4 separate regions of the Homo sapiens genome follow, and all the other regions are linked to region 4. Evidence: promoter capture Hi-C in 16 types of primary human blood cells and fetal thymus (Javierre and others, 2016). All regions are on one chromosome and are shown on one strand. The core of a region is centred on a gene start or on the middle of the fragment in contact, and the rest is flanking DNA. Distances in the headings are between cores, read along the strand shown. Region 1 has its middle 21 kb from the start of PTGER2. Region 2 overlaps DDHD1 (DDHD domain containing 1). Region 3 overlaps PTGDR (prostaglandin D2 receptor). Region 4 holds the start of ERO1A (endoplasmic reticulum oxidoreductase 1 alpha).

Evidence for each region. Contacts are between HindIII fragments. The CHiCAGO score rates a contact against its expected background, and 5 or more counts as called.
Region 1: a fragment that was not itself captured here is called in contact with the fragment with the promoter of ERO1A in region 4 in 3 of 17 cell types (neutrophils, megakaryocytes and monocytes); the score reaches 7.8 in neutrophils.
Region 2: a contact is called between a fragment that was not itself captured here and the fragment with the promoter of ERO1A in region 4, in 1 of 17 cell types (M0 macrophages). The highest score is 5.3, in M0 macrophages.
Region 3: a fragment that was not itself captured here is called in contact with the fragment with the promoter of ERO1A in region 4 in 2 of 17 cell types (neutrophils and megakaryocytes); the score reaches 7.3 in neutrophils.

Annotation. Positions count from the first base shown.
Region 1 is chr14:52,290,698-52,295,162 of GRCh38, reverse strand. No RefSeq gene overlaps it. Among named protein-coding and RNA genes, the nearest start is that of PTGER2, 21 kb to the left of the region's middle. The HindIII fragment of the contact is 912 bases long and covers 2,755-3,666 here.
Region 2 is chr14:53,125,670-53,129,938 of GRCh38, reverse strand. The region is part of intron 1 of DDHD1 (DDHD domain containing 1); the gene reads left to right. Among named protein-coding and RNA genes, the nearest start is that of DDHD1, 26 kb to the left of the region's middle. The HindIII fragment of the contact is 536 bases long and covers 2,687-3,222 here.
Region 3 is chr14:52,273,180-52,277,477 of GRCh38, reverse strand. PTGDR (prostaglandin D2 receptor) reads right to left here. Exons shown (of 2, transcript NM_000953.3): 2 at 754-2,747. The coding sequence ends at 2,514. Among named protein-coding and RNA genes, the nearest start is that of PTGDR, 7.6 kb to the right of the region's middle. The HindIII fragment of the contact is 2,652 bases long and covers 604-3,255 here.
Region 4 is chr14:52,692,989-52,697,610 of GRCh38, reverse strand. ERO1A (endoplasmic reticulum oxidoreductase 1 alpha) reads left to right here and starts at 2,053. Exons shown (of 16, transcript NM_014584.3): 1 at 2,053-2,243. The coding sequence starts at 2,130. RefSeq lists a silencer at 1,582-2,121 and enhancers at 2,372-2,421, 2,027-2,528. The HindIII fragment of the contact is 13,242 bases long and covers 1-4,622 here.

The DNA.
Region 1 (4,465 bases), core at 1,961-4,460, 400 kb after region 4:
AAAAAATTAACTGGGTGTGGTGGCACGCGCCTGTAGTCCTAGCTACTCAGGAGGCTGAGGTAGGAGGATAGCTTGAGCCCAGGAGGCGGAGGTCACAGTAGGCCAAGATCCTGCCACCGCATTCCAGCTTGGCAGACAGAGCCAGACCCTGTCTCAGAACACAGAAGTTGCTTTTGCCTCTGAGGACATATGCCAATGAAGGAAAGGTGGATTTTATTGTTTTTATTCTTTCAGGGTCTGCAAGTTCAGAAATTGAAGTTTATGTTCTGGCAAAGGTGGGGAGTCTAATAGGAAACCTTCCTCTATAAGGTTAGGACCCAAAAGGACTGCTTCCTTAGGTCAGGAATTATCTAGAAGTAAACCTAAACCCACTTTTACGCTCTAACCCTCCAACACTCCCCCAGGAGATCTTAAGGGAAAAAAAAATTCTTTTGTGTTGAACACTGCAGAGGAAGGAAAGTAAAGAAAAACCTGATCTCTGCGAAGTGACAAGCACGTGCTGGCAGTCTCTGTGAGTTTGTAACTCCAAATCACCTTACCTGGATGGTCCAAAAAACCCTGTGCCCCGAACTGGTTTAAAGAAGTCCTGGACTGACCCTAGGGGCCTGGAGAGTGCACATCCCCTCTGGAGGAAGGCACCATCATTTTAGGCATCAGAGAATCTCCAGAATACATGTTCTCATAATACCCAAGCTCACCAGAAGATAAGGTAACATCAGTCAGAATCAGCAGGAATAGACCTACAGTGACTTCAGGTATCCTTCATTATCTACATTTTCATTTTGAACTCCAGGAACCAAATAGATTTGGATGCATTAGGATTTCCACACTAGGCAAAATTTTGCCATGTAGTGTCACAAAGTCAAGAACCTAATAGATTCAGATAATGAAACTCTTGAAATTCAATAAGCAAAAGACAGATAACTGAATAGAAAAGTGGAGAAAAGACCTGGACAGATCCTTCACAGACAGGGATATGCAAAGGACAATAAACATAGGAAAAGGTGTGGATCAGGGATATGCACATTAAAGCCACAATGTGATACCACTCGATACCCCCAGAACGGCTAAACCGAACTAGAAAGACAATAGGAAGTATTGATGAGCATGTGGATCAACTCGGCCTTTATACATTGCTGTGGAAGTATGAACTGACACAATCCACTTTGGAAGACCCCTTGGCAGTATTTACTAAGGGCAAAACTTATGACCTAGCAATTACATTCAGTTATATCCTTAATAGAAATGCATATGTATGTTCCCAAAAGATGTGTGAAAGGATGCTTATTACTTTTTTTTTTTTTCTTTGAGACAGAGTTTCGCTCTTGTTGCCCAGGCTGGAGTTCAGTAGCGTGATCTTAGCTCACTGCAACCTCCGCTTCCCGAGTTCAAGCGATTCTCTTGCCTCAGCCTCCTGAGTAGCTGGGATTACAGGTGCCTGCCACCACACCTGGCTAACTTTATTTTTTTGTATTTTTAGTAGAGACGGGTTTTCACCATGTTGGCCAGGCTGTTCTCAAACTCCTGACCTCAGGTGATCCACCCACCTTGGCCTCCCAAAATGCTGGGATTACAGGCATGGGCCAGTGCGCCCGGCTGCTTATTACTATTTGTAATAGGTTCAATTAGAAATAACTCAAATGTCCATCTGCAATAGATAGATTAATATATTGTGGTAAATTCATACGGTGGAATTCGTACAGTAGAACACTACAGCAAAGAGAATAAACAAAATATAACTCTGAACAACACGGACGGATTTCACAAGCATACTGCTGAGTGAAAGAAAACAAGTACATACTGATTCCATTTATATAAAGTTCAAAAGTGGACAAAATTCATGTATTAGAACTCAAGGTGGTTTCCTCTTGTGGGTGAAGTCAGTAGCTAAAAAAGGGATTTTGGAGGGGTTTGGGATTCTGTGTTTTTTGTTTTTTTTTTTTTTAATCTGGATATTAGTAACTTAGGTGTATTGCTTTGTGAAAATTCATTTCACTGTCTACTTATAATTCGTATATTTCTCTGTATGCATGTTATACTTCAGTAAAATTTTGAAACTTTTATAAAGAGACATTGAAAAGGACATAAATAAATTGAAAAGTATACAAAATTAATCAATAGATTCAGTGCAATTCCAGTGAAAATCCCAGCAGGTTTTGGTGGAACTAAAGCACTAAGATTAAAAGGGCCCCCTTCAAAGAGAGCTAGGTGGAAGCATTAATGTACCTAAGACAACAGGCCAATGGAATAGAAACAAACATACAAATATGGAAACTTCATATGTGACAGATATGATATTTAAGATCAATGGGGAAAAGATAAACTTTTTGATAAATGATACTTGGACAAGTGGTTATTTATATGGTGAAAGTACAAAACTGGATATTTATATCACACCATACACCAAATAAATCATAGGTGGGTTCAAATTCAAGAGTGAAAGGCAAAACTATAAAGCTTTTATAAAGTAGTATAGAAAAATATTTCATGATTTTAGGTTTAGAAAACATTTCTCAAATAAAACATGAAAAGCTTAGCCATAAAAGAAAAGTTTAAGAAATTAGATTCTAATAAAATAAAAATTTCTATTAATTAAAAGTCATCAAAAAGAGAGTGAAAAGACAGATTAAAGAATGGGAAAAGATTTTTCCAACACATAAAACTGACAAAGTAACAGTAGTTAGGACATCTATAAATCAATATGAAAAACAAACATTATATTTTTTAAAAAGGCAAAAGACTTGAACAGAAGCTTTATAAACTAGAATTTCCAAACAGCCAATAAATGTATGAGAAGGTGTGCAATATCATCATTATTAATATGAAAAATACATTAAAACCTCAATGAAATACCATTACAAACTTACCAAAATGGCTAAAACTAAAAATCTAACAATACAAGTGTTAGCAAAGATGTAGAGCAATGAAAACAATGCTGGTGTTAGTGTAAATTGGAAAACAATTTTTATGATATAATAAAAGGTGCACATATCCTATAACCCTGCAATCCCACTCCTAGATGTATGCCTTAGAGATACTCGTACACATGTCCAACACAAGACATAATAAGAACAGTTAAAACAGCATTGTTTATTTTTCTTTTCTTTTTTTGCCCCTTGAATCATAAAACAGCATTATTTCTAGTAGGCAAATCTAGAAATACCCCAAATGTCCATTGACAGCATGCGATATATTCATACCATGGAATACTATTTGGCCATGAAAATATAGGAACTCAGCTACACGTACAAAAAGTATGAATCTCACAAACATACTATATGGTGAATATCATCCAGATCTCCTTTTCCAAGCCATTGCCCCCAGCCCCTGTGGGTTATGGTTTCTAATGGCTCAGAGCTGGCCCCTTTTCTGGAAAATTGCCCTTGGCTCAAAGGGTACCACCGGGAACACGTGGGCCAAAAACTTAGTAACAGGCTTTCACAAGTGTCTTGGTGGGACCAACAGTGTGGTGCTATTCAAGCTCCAGAGCCCCCCCTTGAGATCAGGCAGAGCTGAGACCTCATCCTTGCCTTGATTCCGTCCCTGCCCTGTCCTGCTGCTTTCACCGCTTTTCTCCCGAAAGCAGGAGCTCCACAGGTCACATGCACCTGACTCTTTGTCCTAGACTGCATGTGAGGAATCCAAGCTAAGACACATTACTAAGCTTGAGAAAAAGACACTGAATACATATATTATGATGCACACATGGGGTAAGATAAAGAAAAGCAAAAGCATGATTTCTTAAAAGTCGGAACAGGGTTTATCTCGGTGAGGGGGAGGGACTGTGATCAGGGAAGGCACACAGGAGGCTTCTGGTACTGGCAGTATTCCGTTTCTTGACCTGCACAATGTCTACATGGATATTTACTTTATAATTACTATTTAACTGCATATGCATGTTGTACACACAATTTAGTATGTATAATGCATACAAAAAGAAGAAAAATTTCCATGTAATCAGAGAGACTTTTTGGTTTTAACTTAAATAAAAATGTATTTCCTAATCGAAGAAAATAAACTGTTAATTTCTGCTTTCTTATATTTATTGAGATTTTTCTTGTAGCCTAGTATATAATCAGAGCTTATAAATATTTCTTGTATCATATTTGTCAACAAAATATGCTATGGATTCATATATAATGGGATGCCCATTAATTTAATTATAATTCAATGAATTATATTAGTTATCTATGACTGCTGAAAAAAATCACCCCAAAATGTAGCAGCATGAAACAACATTTTCTCACCTCACGATTTCTGTGGGTGAGGAATCTGGGTGCAGCTTAGCTGGGTCCCCTAGCTCAGGTCTCTCATAAGGCTGCAGTCAAGACATTGGCTGGGGTAGCAGTCGGCTCAAAGCTGTACTTGGAAGGAAGGATCCACTTCCAAGAACATTCATGTGGTTGTTGGAGGATTTGGTTCCTCCTGGGTTGTGGGACTAAGAGCTTCTATTCCTTGCTGGCTG
Region 2 (4,269 bases), core at 1,705-4,204, 430 kb before region 4:
GAATGCCTGGACGTCGGGCACCTCAGACCATTTGCCCATTTTTACGACAGTAATTATCTAGATCTTGTAGGATGGAGAAATCAAAAGTGCCGTTTTCTGGCCATTTAGAGCCATTATCAAGTTTGTTTTGGGGCCAAGCAGTGTTGCAGAAGAAAATAAGATGCTTAGGTTTTTAGGTCAGGCAAGAATTGAAGAGGTTTTAAGTTCTTGCACAGGCTAAGGGAGAAGAAGGAGGAATGGAGGTTGAAAGATTGCCCATAGTGAAAGAGGCAAGCCCAGAGAAAAGAGAGGGTAGAGACATGGGCGGGAGGGTGGTGCTTGCCTCCCAGGGAAGGTGGTACTTGCCACCAACGTGAAGGTTCAAGGCAGGCATCCCCACGGTGATCAGACACCTCTGAAATGTGGGTGAATAATCAGGCAGGCATCCCCGCAGTGATTAAACACCAAGGGAAGACTGTCTTCCTCAGTCCGTAACCGGCACCAGAGTTTTGAGATCACGGATAAAACGCGTCTCCTCTGTCTCTACCAGAAAGGGAAAGGAACCAAAATTAAGGAAGGGAGAGATTGAAGGGTGGAGGGATAGCGAGAGAGGTTGGAGAAGAGAGTGAAAAGACTGCTTACCCGATTTAAAATTGGTGAGATGTTCCTTGGGCTGGTTGGTCTGAGGACCTGAGGTCATAGGTGGATCTCCTCACGGAGTGAGGGCAAGGACAGGGGGCTGGTCTCCCAAAGGAGTCCCCCTGTCCCGGGTCTTCGGCACCAAATGTCATGCACGTCCATTTGAAGAGAGTCCACCAACAGGCTTTGTGTGAGCAACAAGGCTGTTTATTTCACCTGGGTGCAGGTTGGCTGAGTCTGAAAAAGGAGTCAGCAAATTGTGGTGGGATTATCATTAGTTCTTATAGGTTTGGGATAGGTGGGCCAGGGGTGGATCTCACAAAGTACATTCTCAAGGGCAGGGAGAATATTATAAAGTACCTTGTTAAGAGCAGGGGAATATCACAAAGTGCATTATCACAAGGGCAGGGAGGGTGTATTGTCATAAGGTCAGTTGATCAGTTAGGGTGGGGCAGGAACATATCACAATGGTGGAATGTTATCTTTTGTGGTTCTTCAGTTGCTTCAAGCCATCTGGATGTATACCTGCAGGTCACAGGGGATATGATGGCTCAGCTTGGGCTCAGAGGCCTGACATTATGCAGTTATGGGCTGTAGGTAGAAGTGATAGACTTTTGTATCAGAACTGTTGGCTTCTGGCCCTTTTTTGCTGACATAATACATATGGCCTAACTGAACCAGCTGTTGCACTTAATTTCTTATGCTCCTACAGTGGACTGAAGGTTAATATCTCCCCAAAATTTGTATGTTGAAATACTAAACCTCTAGGTGATGGTATTGGGGAAGTGGGGCCTTTGGGAAGTGATAAGGTCATACGGCAGAGTCCTGTGAATCGCATTAACACCCTGCTCCTTCCCCACTTCCACCATGTGAGGGCACAGTGAGAAGGCACAATGAACCAGAAAGTGGACCCTCACCAGACACCAAATCTGCTGGTGCCTTGATCTTAGACTTGGCAGTCTCCAGAGATGTGAGACATAAGTTTCCATTGTTAAAAGCTACCAACTTTATGGTATTTTATTACAGCAGCCTAGATGGACTAAGACAGATCCTTAGTCTCCATATATTAGTCCATTCTTATGCTGCTATGAAGAAATATCCAAGACTTGGTCATTTATAAAGGAAAGGGGTTTAATTGACTCACAGTTCCACGTGGCTGGGGAGGCCTCAGGAAACTTACAATCATGGTGGAAAGGGAAGCAAACTCGTCCTTCTTCACATGGTAGGAGGAGAGAGAAATATAGAGCGAAGAGGGGAAAGCCCCTTATAAAACCATTAGATCTCGTGAGAACTCACTGTCAGAATAGCATGGGGCAACCACCCGCGTGTTCTGTTCACCTCCCATGAGGTTCCTCCCCCAACACGTGAAGATTACAATTTGAATTACAGTTCAAGATGAGATTTTGGGTGGGGACATGGCCAAACCATGTCATTCCACCTTTCTTATTCTGTCTTGGTTCATACAACTATACAACTCAATGTAAAAACAGACTCTTAAGGATCTATTTTCACATAAAAAGACCTACCTTTTACTAATAACACCAGGAAGTAAATCAGAGCATTGAGTTAGCTTGCCAGTCATTGTGTGTCTGTAGCGATCTTACCTTCAGGTCTTAGTATGTATTTGTTTTTTGATTCTCTGGGCTTCCTTCTCCAGCTGTCATGGCATAAGGTTTTTATTTTAGAAGACTTGGTGGGGAAAATGGTGTTTAGTTCTACCAAATGGCTGAGGATTCTTCACGGTTAGTCTTGATGTAGCTGTGTGTAACTACTGCATGTGGATTTAGAAACTTCAAACAATATTCCACAAATTAAAATAATGCCATAATTTGGCATGAGATTTTGTAGTTTACAAAGTACTTTCACATACATTATTTTATTAATCCCCATTGTAACCCTGCAGTGAGACAATATCTTCATGTTATAGATGATAAGCTGAGGCTCAGAGAGGTTAAGGGGTGAACTGGAATTTTAGGCTAGGCCTCCTGAGTCCTTAACCCAGTTCTTTTTCTACTGTTGTACAGTCTGCAACTTCACTGTTTACACGATTTGAGCAGATAATGAAGCTTAGGTTGCCAATAATACTTAATATCCTGGATTATTTTGTAACCTGTGTAAAATTTCCTCACTCAACTTTATTGCTATGTATTCCTCCTGTTTGATGATTTTCTAAATAAATTTCTCAATTGTCTGGTAACTTTAGTTTCTTAAGTGTTTCTTCTGCTTTTTTAAAAAAACATATGTTCAAGCGTTTACATCTGTGCTTGTTAGCATTATGAATTTTGACTACACAAATCTTTTTCTCCTTTTTCTCTGTTCTTTTTTAAAAAATTTTAGTTTCTCTTTTGATTTCAACCCGTTAGAGCTTAAATTCTCACGTGATTGTTTTATTTATAGCTAGTTAATCCTCCTGACTAGTAACTATTTTGACAGTCTGACATTTGTTTGCCATCTTCTAAACGCTGTGCTTCTCTTTTGTAACGTGAATTGTTTTCTTTCAATACATTTTTTCAAAACTTTAATTTCATTAATTCAACAAATAGTTAATATTTACTAGGTAAAAAAAAAGATGGGAATGACCACTTCTACGTCAAGTAAAAAGCTTTCCAGAGAAATTGATGCTTGATATGAGTCTTAAAGAAAGATGTTACATCAGCCGGGTGGGTGGCTCATGCCTATAATCCCAGCACTTTGGGAGGCCAAGGTGGATGGATTGCTTGAGCCCAGGAGTTCAAGAGCATCCTGGATAACATGATGAAACCCCATCTCTACTAAAAATACAAAAAATTAGCTGGGGATGGTGGCGCATGCCTGTAGTCCCAGCTACTTGGGAGCTGAAGTGGGAGGATTACCTGAGCCCGGGAAGTCGAGGCTGCAGTGACCCGTGATTGCTCCACTGCACTGCACTCTAGCCTGGGAGATGGGAGTGAGACCCTGTCTCAAAAAGAGTAAAATAGGGTATGCAGACACTACATTTAGATGTATTATAATGAAAATGTTTGAATTCATATTCACTTCTATTTCACCCTTTCAATTTTTCTATTTTTGTGTATCATAATGAATCAAACATTTTAGAACAATAATATATATACATAATTTGTAAATATGTATACATAAAAATACTGAAAATATTTTTACCTTGGGTAAATGATCAGATTTAGAGAATTAACTGTTTTTAACTAGTTGGGAACCAGTGATCACTTATGCAAGGACTGTGTTTTGTGATATATAACTTGAAGAACTTAAAGTACATATTTCTGGACCCTATCTTCAGAGACTGGTTTATTAAGTTTGGGAAGGAATCTTAAAAAATCCATCTTTGCTGGGCGCGGTGGCTCACGCCTGTAATCCCAGCACTTTGGGAGGCCAAGGCAGGCAGATCACGAGGTCAGGAGTTCGAGACCAGCCTGGTCAACATGGTGAAACCCTGTCTCTACTAAAGATACAAAAAATTAGCCGGGCATGGTAGTGGGTACCTGTAATCCCAGCTACTCGGGAGACTGAGGCAGGAGAATCATATGAACCCAGGAGGCGGAGGTTGCAATGAGCCAAGATCACACCATGGCCCTCCAGCCTGGGTGACAGGGCGAGATTCCATCTCAAAAAAAAAAAAAAAAATCCATCTTTTAATTTAATTCCTCAGGTGATTCT
Region 3 (4,298 bases), core at 680-3,179, 420 kb after region 4:
GTTGTTGATATACAATTTGGTTTTATTTTTGCATTTCCTTGATTAGGCTGAATATTTTTCTACATTTATTAACCATATGTATTTTCTCTTATGTAAACTTTCTCTGTGTTCTTTTCAGTTTTCAGAGTCAAAATTCCTACTCGTTTTCAATACTTGACTTTCAATGCATCTTCTTCCTGTGAAGTTCTCCTGACAACCCTACACGTGGTCCCTAGTTTGGGCCTCCTCTTCTAATAGTAAATGCGTACTCGCAATACTATGGAGAATTTCTATGCTGTATCCTAACTGTTGACATTCCTCTCTACCCCAGTGGACAACGAGCAACTCATGAACCATGATTGAGTCTTATTTTTATTCCTTTCCTCAGCCCCTAATCAACTGCTTGGCACAAGGTCTCTGTAAATTATTTAATGAATTAATGAATAAATCTATACAGATTACCGAAGAGTTGGTTTTAACTCAACACAGACTTCATCCAGATGGTATATCTACATTTTGTATGAAACAAAAAGGAGCACTAGGTCCTTAGGTGAGTCTAAGGACTTACCTAAGCTTGTTTAAAGTAATGTAAAGTAATGAAATGTAAGTAAAGTAATGAAAGCTTGTTTAAAGTAATGTAAGTGTTAATCGGACAGTATATAAAAATCCACACTAGGAAACTGCCAGACAATGAAATATTGCTGGCAACTGTCTACTAAAAAGAAAGCCAAGCCCTTTTCTTTCATTTAAAGAAAAGTAATTTCCTCTGCAAAATACTATAAAATTATATTTATTGATTCATCTGGGGCCTTTTCAAATTAACTGGACAATTATCCTAACACACCTCTCCAAAAAAAGAATACAAAAAACATGTTCTTCCTCTGACAATAAAACATGCATGTACTTACACATTGAAGGTACAAACAAAAGTTAAATTTCAAAAACAACTGTATTTTTTTCATCATGTCATACTGTTAAATCATACTCCTTGTATGCCTAATTTGGCTTTTTCACAGTTTTGCTATACCAAAAAATTACATAAAAAATTACCCAGCTTTATATTATCTCAGATACTGGAAAAAACATAAGTGAAACAAAGGAGGTTGCTGCTCAGTTGGAAATAAATAAACATGAGTACTCTTATATTTGGAAGGGACTTCTGGCTGGAGGTCTTGAGATCACGCAAATGCAGCAGGCTTTGCACCTTGGAGTCCTGAGATTGTCAGATACAAAGGAACTCCAGAGATGCTGAAACCCCTTGAACCTCCCCAGCTGTTCTTTTACCAAAGGTGAAAGCTCTTACCTGCAAGCTGGGTTTAGAGTCTCCGCTTCAGTTGCAGCTGCGTTTCCTCCACTTTTCCCTTTCAGTCATCATATTGCTGACCCTTGAAAACTTTTAAATTACTATTAAAGTGCTCAGTTGTGCTCCTTTTCGGCTATATGCTGCTCCAGTTTTGAAGGTGTAATTTGAAGTAAAATCTTGGAACCTAAGATCTTACCGTCTCCACGGACAGCAGAATACGGCTGTAATAGGTAGCTGTTAAGGTAGATGTTAAGGCCATTGTTACTATCGTCAACTGAGGCTAAGTCCTGGGTGGGCTTTTTGCTGTGCCAAATGCCCCCCTGTGCCACACAGTCAAACAGTAAACATGGCTCTACAGTGAGTCACACACTGGTTTTCAAAGAAGCATAAATCCTTCCACTAAAGAATCCATTGATAGGATAATTCTTTTATAAAATGGAGGTTCTAAAAACTGAAAGAACATTTTGCAACCCACCCCCAACTTTTGATTCCTACTGACACCCTTGACTCAATACAAAAGAAACTGGATTTCAAAAGATAAAAACGAATTTTTGCTTCTTTGGGTTGTGGGCTATAGTCATATCTTGCTCTGCATCTAGTTACAGCTTCAGGTCTCCACCTGAGGCAGCAAGTACTCCCCGATGGTGGCTGGGGAAGCCCCTCCAACTGCCTGACCTGGTCATATTTCCCACCTCACTTCTCTGAGGAACATCATAATTCAGGCTATGCTTAGATCAATTGGCAAAGAAATGAACTAAACATCGGCAATGATATAAAATCAATGAATCAGGTTTCACCAAAAAATGAATAGGGTAAGAAATTATGCTTTTTATGAATGTCCATCGTATAATCGTAAACAGTGGTGTTTCTACTGTATTTTAAAAGACCTGTATGTCTCAAGGCCTCTCTAAAAAAAAAAAATAGGGCCACCAAGCACAAATGTAGGGACAATTAATACCATTGTTTTTTAAGACTTTTAACACTGGTTACAATATATAAAATTTTAGTTGCTGTTAATAAAAAAATGAAAATGCACTGAAGGGGTTCATGACTATAGAATGGTAACACATTGTTAAGATATCAAATACTTTTGAAAATACATATACATGCTTTTGTTATGGGAGGTAACTTTTAAGGATTTAAATTGTAAGTTGTCTTTTTTTTTTTAATCATGGTTCTTTGACTGAAAATGTGACATATTCCTCAGCTTACCACAGAGTGAAAAACACTGTCACAGACTGGATTCCATGTTAGTGGAATTGCTGCACCGGCTCCTGTACCTAAGAGGTCTAATGAAAATCTTGTGAAAAAATATCCGAAATACTGGAGATCTGAAAATGATAAAAATCCAAGGGTCCACAATTGAAATCACAGATAGAAATCGCAAGGCTCGGAGGTCTTCTGCTTCTTCAGAGGTCCTGTTTTTCTCCTTGACATCCTTAAATGCTCCATAGTAAGCGCGATACTGTTTTGAAGAAAAACATTCCATTATGATGTGGAAAGGTTAATGGCAGCAATGGATTCACTTACTTCACCTAAGTTACTGTAAGAACATGACAGCTTAGCTTGGAACACCCATTTTTGGTACATTTACAAGTAGCTAAGGCCACAGCAGCTGATGGGTGCAAGTGGGGAGCTGGGAAGGTGGGGTGTGGCCAGACCTGGGAGGTGGGAAGGAAGCTGAGTACTTGTCGGAGACCCAGTCTGATTAAGTCCCTGAAGGCTATTCTACCTGCTGGGCTCAAGTTTCTAGGTCCCTGCCAGGCCATGAAGATCTGCTGAATCTTTTAGAAACAGGGTCAGCATGCTTTCATAAATACAGAATCTCTTTCTAGCTAGTGTCCTTGCACTTACTTTCTTCAGTTCTCCTTTCTTTCTTCTCCCTGCTTCCTATCTTCTCCTATTAGTTCTCTCAGAAATAAGTCACACCTGTGAAATGTCATATGTATGGAGACACCAATAGAATGGAAGCTTTTAATCAATGTGAAGAGATTGGAAATATGACAATGAAAAGACCTGAGATGACTTGGAAAAAAATACTGTTCAACTCATGTAAATTGCTATACTTATTTTTAGCACAAATTGTTACTTTTTCATGGTTGACATCCTTTTTTTTTTTCTTGTTCAATCTAGAAGGCAAAAACATGCACAAAAATATAAGGCTGCCTTACCTAGGTCCAACCAACTCCTCTTGTCTTGATCTTCCCTGAGGTCTCTGTAGCCTCCTTGGAGCCCTGCAAAGTGCCTCAAACAACAGCTTTTCCTCCCATTCAGCCAACACTGATCTCTAGATCAGCACAACCATTGCTTTCCACTCTGCCTAAGGCTGGCCACTTTTTTCTTTTTTCCATTACATTCTCTATGCCTACAATTCTAAATACATTTTAGGATAAATGGACTCTAATGGAACAGGAAGCGTGCAAACTCAACATTAGTAAGAAGGGATATGGATAAGAGACTGGACCCATTCGAGGCAATCAGAGAGCATCTCCTGGAGAAGATGCATTTTTCCCATAATCATTTCCTTACTGTTCTACTTTCTTCTCTGTAGAGCATTTCAGCAGGCTCAGCCACTCCAATCTAGTGCATTTAGGAAGACACCTTACACTGGACTCAGCTGTTTAATCTGGATGCCCTCGCCCATCTGAAGTCGGGCGGGGGCGGAGGGAATCTTAACAACTTCTCCATAACATAAATATTGTATTTGATTAATCTTGATGAAAAGTTTGTTGGAGTATGATTTTTAAAATTCACTTTAATGCTGAACACTTAACTAGATTGAATTTTCAAATTTCCAGTTTGATACAATCGGAAGAAAGTGCAAGTGTAGAGAATATGGCATGAGCTTCAGAGGCATTCTCTAAGGCATATAACATATTTTCAGGCCGGGCACGGTGGCTCACGCCTGTAATCCCAGCACTCTGGGAGGCTGAGGTGGGTGGATCATTTGAGGTCAGGAGTTCGAGACCAGCCTGGCCAACATGGTGAAACACCGTCTCTACTAAAAATACAAAAA
Region 4 (4,622 bases), core at 804-3,303:
TGTACATGTGACATGTTGTAGATACTAGAATTAGAGCTTCTCAGGTCCATCAGGATCTCAGATGGGTTGTTGACTTTTACTACATGTCTACTTGGCAGTGATAGGCAGAGCTCTAGGGTTTGCAGTAAAATACATGAGTTTAAGTCATTTGAACTATTTCAACTTTTAATGTGCATGCAAGATGTCGGAAAGCTGCCAGTTTCACCTAGAAACTACCTTCTTAGGCTTGGTGAAGTGGCTCACACCTGTAATCCCAGCACTTTGGGAGGCAGAGGCAGGCAGATCACTTAAGGTCAGGAGTTCGAGACCAGCCTGGCCAACATGGTGAAACCACATGTCTACTAAAAATACAAAAGTTAGCTGGGTATGGTGGCGCAGGCCTGTAATCCCAGCTACTCGGGTAGCTGAGGCGTAAGAATCACTTAAACCCGGGAAGCGGAGGTTGCAGTGACCCGAGATTGCGCCACTGCACTCCAGCCTGGGTGAGGAAGTGAGAGTGTCTCAAAAAAAAGTCTTCTTAAAACAACAAACAAACAAACAAACAAAAAACAAAAAGTAAGGCCAGGTGCGGTGGCTCATGTCTGCAATTCTAGCACTTTGGGAGGCTGAGATGGGTGGGTCACCTGAGCTCAGAGCTAGAGACCAGCCTGGCCAACATGGCAAAACCCCTTCTCTACTGAAAATACAAAAATTAGCCGAGTGTGTGGTGGCTTACGCCTGTAATCCCAGCTACTGGGGAAGCTCAGGCAGGAGAATCTCTTGAACCTGGGAGGCAGAGATTGCAGTAAGCCAAGATGACGCCACTGCACTCCAGCCTGGGCGACAGAGCGAGACTCCGCCTCGAAAAAAAAAAAAAAAGTAATCCCAGCACTTTGGGAGGCTGAGGCGGGAGAATCGCTCTTGAGGAGTTTGAGACCAGCCTGGGCAACATGGTGAAACCTCGTTTCTACTAAAAATAAAATTAGCCAGGCGTGGTGGCGCACGCCTGTAGTTCATGCTACTCAGGAGGCTTAGGTGGGAGGATCGCTTGAGCCCAGGAGTTCGAGGTTGCAGTGAGCTGCGATCGCATCATTGCAGGCCAGCCTGGGTGACCCAGGGAGACCCTGTCTGGAAAAAAAAAAAGCGGATAGACTAGTCCCAACTCTGAATGTTAAAAGACCAGGACTGGGTATCAGAGGACCTCCAATCCTTGCTCACCTTACCTCACTTCTCTAGGCCTGTTTCTTCCTATGATATGAGCGGGTGGCTTCCACCCTCGCTGTCTAATACAGTGGGCACTAGCCAGCCACATTTGACTATGAAATGGGTCTAGTTCGCATCGAATACACACTGGATTTCAAAGACAAAAAAAGTCAAATATCTTATGAATAAATTTAATGTTGGTTATATTTTGAAATAATATTTTGCACATTCGGGGTTAAATAAAAATATTTTAAAAATAAAATGTACCTGTTATTTTTACTCTTTTGCTGTGGCTACTAAAAATATAAATGACATATGCTGCCCTGGTCTAGATGCTCTCTAATATCCCTTTCAGCTTTAAGACTCCGCCGGGAACACGGTGGACACGTAATTCGTACGATTTGATTGTCTCGCATTGAGATACGGAAGGATTGGCCGGGAGTGAGCGGGCTGGGGCTGGGCGGGGCGGCGCGGGGCGGGCACCCCCCGCCCCCCAACCCCGCAGGAAAACACAGGCCCCTCCGGCTTTCGCTCTCGCTCTGGGAACTGGAAGGACCCCCGACTCCCGCGCAGGGTCTGGGGTTGTGCGCGTCGGGTTGCGTCTCCAGGCCGGGGGCGTCAGGGAGCCGGGGGCGGGGACGGGCGCGGGCGCAGCGGACCGGGCGGGGCCGAGCCGGGAAGCTGGTCGGTGCGTCAGCCTCACGCGGCGGGAAGGAACCGGTCCGAGGCCCCGGGCTGCCGGCGCGGGCGCCGCGGCACGTCCACAGGCTGGGTCGCGAGGTGGCGATCGCTGAGAGGCAGGAGGGCCGAGGCGGGCCTGGGAGGCGGCCCGGAGGTGGGGCGCCGCTGGGGCCGGCCCGCACGGGCTTCATCTGAGGGCGCACGGCCCGCGACCGAGCGTGCGGACTGGCCTCCCAAGCGTGGGGCGACAAGCTGCCGGAGCTGCAATGGGCCGCGGCTGGGGATTCTTGTTTGGCCTCCTGGGCGCCGTGTGGCTGCTCAGCTCGGGCCACGGAGAGGAGCAGCCCCCGGAGACAGCGGCACAGAGGTGCTTCTGCCAGGTGAGCGATGTGCGCGTTGGTGCTGAGGGTCCCGGCGCCCTCCGCGGCGTGCACTGTCCCGCACGCCCTGGCGGGTGAGCGGCTGGGGGTGCGTCCTTGCATCTCTTCCCACCGGGAATGAGACTCCGGTGCTGCTGCCCGGTGGCCGGGACTGAGTCTGGCTTGGCGTGGACCGGGCCTCCACGGCAGCCTGGACGTCGCCGCGCCCTCCGGTGCCTCGGACCAGGAGAGGGGTTGGGTGCACGCGGTTGAGTGGGTTTATGCATCTTTGTTGGTCTTATCTGCCCGGGGAGAGTGTGCACAGTGTATAATGCCCTGCCAGTATTTGCTATTTTCACAGAACCTGGATCTTTCTCACTTCTCTCTTGACCAGGAACTTGTGTACCCAGTACCTGTGCTGCGTGCATTTCGCCAGCCTTTCTGGCTAAGACGTTTGTGGGCTGATCTCAGATTTCGATGTTAGGCGGAAGAATGGCTGCTTGCGGTTTTTCTGTGTGTAAGCCCAACTACCTGATGTCTTTGGGACTGCAGTTGCCCTCTGGTTTCTGGTCCTGTGTGCTCTTTTTCTCGAATGTAATGAGATTCTCTTATCGTGACACCCGTTAAGCTGGTACGAATTGGGAGGAAGGTCCTTATTCTTCAGTGCACAAGTTTAATTACAAGCGGATTATGATCATTTCCTTCTGTAAGAGATGTGGTTTCTTGAGCAAAAAATTGAGAGAAACTTACAGTTTTCCATTATCTTCAGTATCTAGTATTTCAATGTGATTACTCTTGTCAAAGCCACTTTTTGGTTGACTCTGTTGATAAAAATTACGTTTTATACAAAATTAAGGGTTAGGCATCCATGTTATTCCTAAGTGGATTTTGCTATTAATTTATTATCAGAAATACCATTTTATGTGTTTAGGGGCATGATACCATGTCAAAGGAAAGATGCATTTAAATATTATGAAAGGTTTCTCTTTCACTACTTTACATTCTTGGATTTTGTTGTTTTGCTGAGTGATTTGGGAGTTGAGGTGAGTGTTATCTAGGAAACTAAGGGAAGTTGAAAGAAAATTGCTACTTTACAACTGAGACATTGAAAAGTCCTTTACCTTCAATCATTACAAAGGACACACAATCAAGTACTTAAAAGGAAAAGGGTCATTTTTCTTCTGATTAGAAATATAACGCAACACCGAGATTAAACATTTAAAAAATAAGATAGAAATAAGTGACTTTAAAATAAAATATTCTTTACGGAAAGAAGATGTCCAATGTAACATTTTCAGCTACATTCTGGAGATTTGGATACTGGAATAAAAGTACATGTTGAACTCTTCAACTTTTACTTTTTTTTTCCTTAATAACCTTTTTGGAGTTCTGCTTAAAATAGAACTTTAAATTCTTTGCATTTATTTTCTTTTTCTTCTAACTAGTGATTAAACTTTTCCTCTTTCACAATACCCTCATATTCAAATACTTCCCTAACATAAAATTCTGTTAAACCCCTTTCTTTTTCTTTTAGAACGAGAGTGGCTATCTGTGTTTCTTTTCAGACTCAACCTTGAAAAATAGTAAATTGGGCTGGGTGTGGTGGCTCCAGCCTGTAATCCCAGCACTTTGGGAGGCTGAGGTGGGAGGATCTCTTGAGTCCAGGAGTTCAAGACCAGCACGGGCAACATAGTGAAACCCCCGTCTCTACAAAAAAAATTAAAAAAAGAAAAAAGCTGGGTGTGATGGTGTGCGCCTGTGGTCTCAGCTACTTGGGACACTGAGGTGGCAGGATGGAGTGAGCCCAGGAGTTCGAGACCAGCTTGGAGACCCGGTCTGTATTAGTCCGGGTTCTCTAGAGGGATAGAACCAATGGAATATATATATAAAGGGAGTTTATTAAGTATTAATTCACATGATCACAAGGTCCCGCAATAGGCTGTCTGCAGGCTGAGGAGCAAGGAGAGCCAGTCTGAGTTCCGAAACTGAAGAACTTGGAGTTTGGTATTTGAGGGCAGGAAGCATCCAGCATGGGAGAAAGATGTAGGCTGGAAGGCTAGGCCAGTCTCTCACGTTTTTCTGCCTGCTTATATTCTAGCCATGCTGGCAGGTGATTAGATTGTGCCTACCCAGATTAAGGGTGGGTCTGCCTTTCCCAGCCCACTGCTTCAGTGATCGAGGCTGCAGTAAGCCATGATTGCATCAGTGCACTCTAGCCTGTGTGACAAAGTGAGAGTCTGCCTCAAAATAATAATAATAATAAAAAAGTAAATTGAGGATCATATAGTTAAAAAAACAGTTTTAACAGAAATTTAGAAATTTAGAATGGTCTACTTATTTCATGATTTGAGGGAGCCTAAGCAAAAAAAAAAAAAAAAAAAAAAAAGTTGTCTATTTAAG